2 separate regions of the Homo sapiens genome follow, and region 1 is linked to region 2. The links are contacts of gene promoters, found by promoter capture Hi-C in blood cells and fetal thymus (Javierre and others, 2016). All regions are on one chromosome and are shown on one strand. The core of a region is centred on a gene start or on the middle of the fragment in contact, and the rest is flanking DNA. Distances in the headings are between cores, read along the strand shown.

The links. The method cuts DNA at HindIII sites, captures the fragments that hold promoters and counts their contacts. A CHiCAGO score of 5 or more calls a contact.
Region 1: a fragment that was not itself captured here is called in contact with the fragment with the promoter of FANCB in region 2 in 1 of 17 cell types (non-activated CD4 T cells); the score reaches 11.7 in non-activated CD4 T cells.

Annotation. Positions count from the first base shown.
Region 1 is chrX:12,790,828-12,794,788 of GRCh38, reverse strand. It overlaps PRPS2 (phosphoribosyl pyrophosphate synthetase 2), which reads right to left and starts at 3,377. Exons shown (of 7, transcript NM_002765.5): 1 at 3,170-3,377. The coding sequence starts at 3,291. RefSeq lists a silencer at 2,672-3,121. The HindIII fragment of the contact is 1,938 bases long and covers 630-2,567 here.
Region 2 is chrX:14,870,611-14,874,588 of GRCh38, reverse strand. It overlaps FANCB (FA complementation group B), which reads left to right and starts at 1,520. Exons shown (of 10, transcript NM_001018113.3): 1 at 1,520-1,603. It overlaps MOSPD2 (motile sperm domain containing 2), which reads right to left and starts at 1,168. Exons shown (of 15, transcript NM_152581.4): 1 at 1,052-1,168; 2 at 831-900. The coding sequence starts at 1,060. RefSeq lists a silencer at 1,201-1,430. The HindIII fragment of the contact is 4,870 bases long and covers 1-3,978 here.

The DNA of each region.
Region 1 (3,961 bases), core at 349-2,848, 2.1 Mb after region 2:
ATGACTAGCAGTCCAGGGGAGGACAGAGAATATCATCACCATGGCAACTTTTCCCCTAAAGCTAGTCCTGCTTCTACTCAAAAAGATGATCATGACTACCTTTATTCTAGGTCTTTAAAAAATTGTGGCTAGAAGGCAGCATCCATTTGCCATTCTGCCAGAGGATCTTTATTGACCCCCAAATAAAAACGCTGAAGAGCGTCACTGACTCAACAATAAACGGGCATGGTAACTAAAAGATAGCCACAGACTCTTAACACATTTCCCATCAAGGAGCAGGGTCTAGTCTCCCGCCCTTGAATCTGAGAGGGCTCTGTACTTGCCCAACAGCATATGACAGAAATTATGATACACCAACTTGCAAGCCCAGTCCTTAATGGACTGGTGGCTTCAATGTCCTGTCTTTTGGAACATGTGCTCTTAGAACCCAGCTTCCATGCTGTAAGGAAGCTCAAGCAGCCCCATGGAGAGGCCTACAAGAAGAGGAGCTGAGGTTCCTAACCAAGCTCCCAGGCAAAAGCTAGTAACAACTTCAGTCATGTGAGCCATCTTCAAGAACCCTCCAGCCCCAGTTAGCCGCCTCAGCTGTGACCAGCCTCAGCTGTGACCATACGCGGCAAAAACAAGCTTTCTTCACTGAGCCCTTCCCAAATTGCAGATTTGTAAGCCAAATCAACAATTACTGTTTTAAGCCATTAAGCTCTTTATTTATTACATGGTAACCGATAACCTTGTATAACTTTGCATAACCTTGTCTCACAGTATAGCTAAAGATTCTGCCAGCAGGTTAACTGACCATAGTAAAATGTTACAACAGAGACATCTAGACACCTGCTGTCCTAAGATGTCATCATGGAATTTCCATGGTCTATAGTGAAGCTGGAGCGGACCTCTCCCTGCATATCTGAAATGATTTAGGGATAAGAAGGTAAAATTGGAAGGCTCTATGTTCAGTAAAGTAGCATATAAAAAACGCAAAATGGGAGGATTGATGGCCAGGAGACAGCAAACCAGATTTCTGATCCTAGTTCAGTGACAGATTCAAGAAGGGGCCCTTACATGAACTGAATCAATTTTGTCTTCATTTTGCCCTTCAGTTTTTCCTCTCTACGATTACACAGCTAAAAGCTGGATTCCTAGCACAGTAACTGGTCCAGAGAGGGCTGTTTATAAAAATTAAGCTCTGTACTTGTACAGTTCATGGAAAAGAGAAAAGTCAGGCAGTGAACCTTTTATACTCTATACATTAAAAACATAAAATGTAGCTATATAGGCAATTCCCAAACTTCATGCTGAGTGGTTTTTGAGGTCCCACGATTTCTAATTATCAAGTGATGGTTATAAAATGCCAAAAACAAAATAAAAGTGAGTCTGCTTTATATTTGAACCAAATGTATAAACAATCATACTTCAGTGTCTGAGTGAGTTTTGCCCAGTGGCACATGTGGTATTTTTAGGAGAAACTCAACACTGACTTAGCAGTGAACTGATCTAGATTAACCATGCTCCTTAGCAAAAGATCATGCTGCACTGAGTACCTGGAAGGGCAACATATTTGCTTTCAAAATTTACTTCATCAACAAATTTCTCCTTTACTTATATGACGACACCTTCTGAACAAAAACTATTCTTCTTCTCGTGTTCTTACAGCGACTGAAACTTGAACAAGACTGGCAAAATACTGCAACACTCAAACCTAGCTCTATCCTTCTCCAGAGCCCTAGACCATCCTCTCAGACTTCTGCATTAAACACTGCAGAGTGGAATTCTTTAGCCAAAGTCCACCTGCCACTCATTCACAATGTTTCTTCGCTTATATTATCATCGGAGCCATAACTGGAATTTGCCACCTGGAAGAAGTCACGTAAGATTCACATATCCTAAAAAGCTGACTTGCCAAAATATAGCATCTTCCCCATCAGTATTAACATAACTCCTCCTTAAGAAATTTTTGCCTAACCCCAAGTCAAGATTTTCTGCTAGAAATTTTATAGTTCTAGATTTTACAATTAGGTCTATGATCCACTTCAAAGTTAATTTTTACAAATGGTGAAAAGTATGGATGGAAGTTCATATTTTTTGGCATATGGGTGTCCAACTGTTCCAACACCATTTCTAGAAAATGTTGGTAAAATTGAACCTTTGCCAAAGATATAAAAATTATCAGTAACTGTGGACAGTTAACGGTACTAGACATTGGAGGAAGAAGGGGGAAAAATGAGACCAATTTGAAATGAGTCAAGGAGCTGTGTGGACTCAGGCAGATAGACAAAGGAGCCCCCCAGGTCAGCTTCCGAGGATGGCCACCACCTGAGGCTCTCCTGGACTTGAGAAATGGGTGAAAGTTACAGTCGAATCACGGCGTTGTTGCTGGACACAGCAGAGTCCTAGAACAAGAAGGAAGCTGAAAGTCCATCATCTTTAAAGCAGCAAGAGTAGTGGGAGCAGAGGGGAGCCCAGCACGTGCGTCCTGGGGTTCTCACAGTCTTTCAAACCTTGGCACAACTGCACCCTCTGGATAACGCAGTGGTCTGCGCCCTGGCTGCTCAGGAGAAGCCAGGGAAGCTTGTAAAATCGCTGATCCTCCGCCCGTTGGATCAAACCCTTGGGGGCAGGTCGGGGGAAGCAGCGTTCGGACCGTCCCCAGGTAAACCCAGCGTGCAACCAGAGTTGGGGACGGGGGGAAACCTTTAGTCGCACGCACTGGTCTGAGGTTCAGCTTTGTAGGGACGCGGAAACTGGGACCAGCCAACCCAGGACGTCTCTCCACCGCGCGCTGACCCGATGCGGTTCCCGCCCGCTGCGCCCACTCTCTCCCCGACGGTCTGTGACCGCCCAGACGTCTCCCTTCCGGGCTGGGGACGCCAGGCCGGGCGGCACCGCTGGGAGGCCGGGAGCGGCTCGGGACCGCCGGGTCGCCGCGGTCCCAGGACCGGAGGCCCTGCAACCGGGGGCACAGCCGAGGCGCGCATCGGGACGCGCGGCGCCCCGCCTCGGTTTCTTCGCAGGCGCGGGCGCGGGGGCGCGGAGGCCGCGTTGCCACCGTCCCGCCCCGGAAGGGGGAGCGCGGCGTCCGCGGAGGTGGCCCGGGCAGGCGCCGGCCCCCAACCCGGCCCCGCAGCCGCGTGCCCAGCGCTCTCCCTAGCCCGGCCGCCGGCGCGGCCCCCACCTGGTCTCCTGGTTGCTGAACTTCTTCGTGACCACCTTGCCCAGCTCCAGGCCCAGGCGGTCGGCCACGCGCTGGGACAGGTCCTGATGCGAGCTGCCGCTGAACAGCACGATGTTGGGCATGGTGGGGCGCGGAACTCCGAGGGGCGCGCGGCGGCGGAGGAGGTGGCGGAGGCAACAGCGACAGCGACGCGGGAGGCTGCTGCTGCGGGAGCGGGAAAGCGCGGCGGCTAGATGTAGGGAAGGGGAGGAGCGGAGGGGGAGGAGCCGGAGGAGGAGCTAGAGGGGGCAGAGAGGGAGGAAGAGCGGGCGTGGAGGGGGAGCTGGAAAGTGCCGGGGGGCGGGGGCACAGCCCTGGCAGCAGTTTTGGACGCCCTGGGTGGTCCTGAAGCCCGAAGGTGTCCTTGCTCCGCGAGAGAGCTCCGAGCTTCATTCTTGATCTTCCAGACCTGCCTCGCGGGGAGAGCCAATGAACCGCGGTTAGCTGGGCACAGAGGGAGAGTTCGGGCCGGGGGGATCCCTCGAGGTGCTTCGCAGCCCGGAGCGACTTCCCACCCCGGAACACCGCAAACCCAGTGTGGGCGACTGGTGTTCAGCTATAGCAAGGGTCTGCAAACTACAGCCTATGGGCCAGATCGCGAGAGCTCCCTGTGTTTGTACCAGAGAGCTAAGCATGGTTTTCATACATGAACATTTGCACTTTATGTGATGATAGCAGACACCGCCTTTGAACTCCAATTAAGAGAAATATCCCCCCCGCAAAAGAATTCCTTTTCTCTCATTAATAGATGTG
Region 2 (3,978 bases), core at 271-2,770:
TAGATGGTTTATGTTTTTTTAAAAAATTTAATCCTACTAACTTTATTATTTGCACTTCACAGATATGAAAACGGGCTCAGAATAGACAAGTAAGCTATGTAGTGGCAGGGTTAGGATTACAATCAATCTTAAGGTAGGCAACATATAAATCCTTATTTAATTCCATATTTACAATAAGTTATTCCGTATGTTTTACAAAATTACTGTACAAGCATTAAATATTCAGTTAAGTACCTGACAACTCAAGTATCTGTGACATCTGGACACAGAATGTTCAACCAATAAATCAATTCTGGACTCATAGGTACTTTGCAAGATACAGTTTGGGATAAGAACTTGTTCCAGCATTGGAGGGCCTATTTTGTGGGTAGCATGCTGGGTTGTATGAAAGCCAAATCAAACAAAATATCCAAGGAATTTGTATACCCAATTAAGTACACATCAATAGTATTATGGCAGTTTCCAGGTACATTTTCGCTAGTGTTGCTGGTGAAAGGCCAGCAGTGGAACCGTGGACTGGACAATGTCACCCGTGTTGTGGGCCTAACAAGTATCCTGCAAGTTCCATAAACACGAGGGCATGCTAAAAACTTAACCGATTTCCAACTTACATTAACCCTTTAAAGGGAGCATGGGACACACCACTTGACCATTTGAAGCAGTGCACACGGCTTGTCATGGAGAGGAAAACCTTTGAGACGTGCCCAGCATCATTCCTGTGAGGGTCGAAAGGGTCCCTAACACCTCCCACAAATACACTCACAAACACTCCAGCAAAGTTGGGGATGCTCACTGCACACCTTTCTTAATACCTGGAACAGAGTACCCACCTGTCACATACTCAGCTTCGAACCTCCTCCGGGTCTCAGAGATGAGCTTGGCTTTATTCTGGGCGTGATTCTGGATGGGAGACACGATGGGACCTTAGATACTACTTGCATCAACCCGCTTACCCTCAACCCAGCCCACCTGCACACGGGCGCTCGGTCCCCGGGCCTCAGAGGCGGCTTCCGGGTCCGGGGGGCCAGCGGCGGTGCAATAGGCTCCTCACCTCTGCCATGATCACCGTCGTGGATGTGATTGCGGTTGTCGCCGTCGCCCGTTCTACCGTCGCCGACCGAGTATCTCATCACCCGGCAGTCCCGCCCAGAGGTAGACAGAGAAGGGTGGGAGGGGGAGGCGGTCGCGTGACACCGGAAGGCGGACAGAAGCGCCGCCGCACCGCCCAATCCAATGCGGACGCCTGGGTCTGGAGGCGGGACCAGGCCCTCAGCCTAGGTCCCATTCGATTCTCGTCTGGCCTCGCCCCGCGACATCCCCCGCACTGCGGTCCCGCCCCCGCCAGCCGCGAGATCGCCGGCGCTTCCCCCGCGGAGCTCCGCCCTAGAGAGCTCGCGGGCTCTCTGCTTTCACAACACTCCCCAGGGCCCCGCCTCCTCAGCCTCCCTTGGCCACCTCTCCTGGCTGGCTTCTAGGCTCCGCCTCCTCTGCGTTCGACGCAGCCTCCGCCCGGCCTCCCAGGATGCAGCGCGCTGGCGGGAGGTTTGGAGCAGATGGATACCGTATCGACGTGGGGCCTCCGGTATGTTGCCGCTGCGTTGAGGTAGGATGGGGCTGGCGAGTCTTCCCTTCCCAGGACTTCGCAGAGGGGGCGATGGGGCTGGATTTCCTCCCCTTGTCCCCGCATTGCGGGAGAGAGGGAAGGAAGCGGGCATCCCGAGACCTGGGTCTGTCATTCCTTGCAATGATAATTGGATTTTAAGTGCTACATTCGCTTGAAGTTTTTTTCATCCCTTCAGTATCCTTCCAACTTGGAGTGTGAGATGCTTAATGAGCAAAATATCTCTGAAATCTTTAATCTCAAATAATTATATAAAGTTAAAAAAAGCGTGTTTCGGCTTATTAAGGTAGTTGTGTTCAGCCGGGGGGGTGGGGGGGTGTGTGTGGGGGGGGCGGTTTTACCACCCAGGGGACCTTTGGCAACCTCTGGAGACATTTTTAGTCACCACTGCTAGGGGCCGGGGGCAAAAGAGATGCTCACTGGCTACTAGTGGATAGAGACCAGGGAAGCTGCCAAACATCCTCCAGTGTACATGAAAATTCACAACAGTTATCCAGCCCAAAATGTCAATAGTGTCAAGGTTGAGAAAGATTTAGATTTAAAGGGACTGGAACAAATTTTATTCGTCAGTTAAAAACAATTGAAAGAAAATAGTTGCGCATACAATATTGCCTTTTTTAAAGTTGAAAGATACTGAAAACTACAAACAAGTTGTAAGAATAGTCCCCCATATTTCCATCAACCGTAGTCATCCATGACAGAATGGCATGTTAGCATCTTTTGTCCTAGACTTTTAAATATATTTACATTTTTTATGGGAAAAAATGAACACATTGTTTAAACGTTGTTTGACTACATCCTTAAAAGATATTTCAGATATAACTAAAGTCTCCTTCTACCTCTACTCACCTATCCTGGACACTTCCTTGTCCAGAATCAACAGCATTCAGAATTTGGCATGAAATGTTTACAGTTTTACATTTTTTTATTTTGGATCATACTGCCTGGGTTTGAATCCTGGCTCTGTCACTTCTTATCTGCAAGCCTTTGAGAAGATCCTGAAACTCCTTGCCTCAGTTTCTCCATCTATAAAATGGGATAGTAACAGTGCCTATGTCATAAGGATGTTGTGAGGAAGAAACGAGTTAATCCAAAGTGCTTAGAGCAGTACCTGGCACTGTTTCTTCAGGAAAAAAAAAAAAAATAGTACATGGCACTATTTCTTGAGAAAGCACTCAGGGACTGTAGTCATTGTAGGTAAATAGAACATATATAATGCTGTTTTATTTGTTTTACATAAATAATATGCTGCAGTGTACATTTGTCTGCAACTTAATTTTTAATTCATTTTATTTTTGAAATTTAACCATGATTATATATATATATACACACACACACACACACATATATAGATAGATAGATCTAATTCATTCCTTTTAACTCTTGTTTGATAGTCCATCTATACTCATTCCCCTATTGGTGTTCATTGAGGTTTTTACTTTTTTTATATTGCAAATATCAGCACAGTGAGCTTCTAGAGCAATGTATTCATTCATATGTGGGATTATGTCTCTGGGTTTATATCTACAAATGAAACTACTGGGTATATGCATTTCAGTTGACTGCCAAATTACCTTCAGAGTCATCTCTCCCTTTTATTTAAGTACTCATAATTTTCTTCTAATTGTTAGCTCTTTTTCCAGTCTGATCTCACTCACACCTTTAACACTGTCACCAGGATCTTCATAACTCAAAAGTACAGTCCTGTGATTTCTGTTTTTGAAGTCTTTCAGTGGGTTATCATTACTTATATGAGAAATTTATAAGTCCTTAATATGACATAAAAATCTTCTTTAGCGTAATCTTCCCAAATCCTCTAATTTAGTTGATCACGATTCTCCCGCATTTACTCACATTTCAGGCATATTAGATAATGTTGAAAAAGGTGAGATCAATTCTGTATAGGACCCAATAAATAACTTATGTAGGGAGAAAAAAACTTTTAACAGTGGCCCTATTTTGTAGGAAAGTTAATTTACTTTGGTTAACAATGTCATATGTCTTGGAAAAACAACATCTATCATTATTATCTTCATAAAATTATGTTCAGTATTATTAGGTGCCATTTTAGTTGAGTGTCTTAATTTTACTTTTTTCCCAAGGATACTTTCTCTTGGTCACAGTTAATATGGTTTCTTAGACTTTTTGGATGTCATCTGCTCTTCTAGGATAATCTGGAACCACACTGATAGTTTATTTAAAGAATTGTCACATTTATAGGGCCAAAATGATTTATGAGCATTTAAAAAGAATGAACAACATATTTATTAAGAGGGGGGGCAGTAAAGAGTAGATGAGGATGATAATTTTATTGCCAGCCTACTATTTTTATGTTAGCATATGCTTGTATATATTAT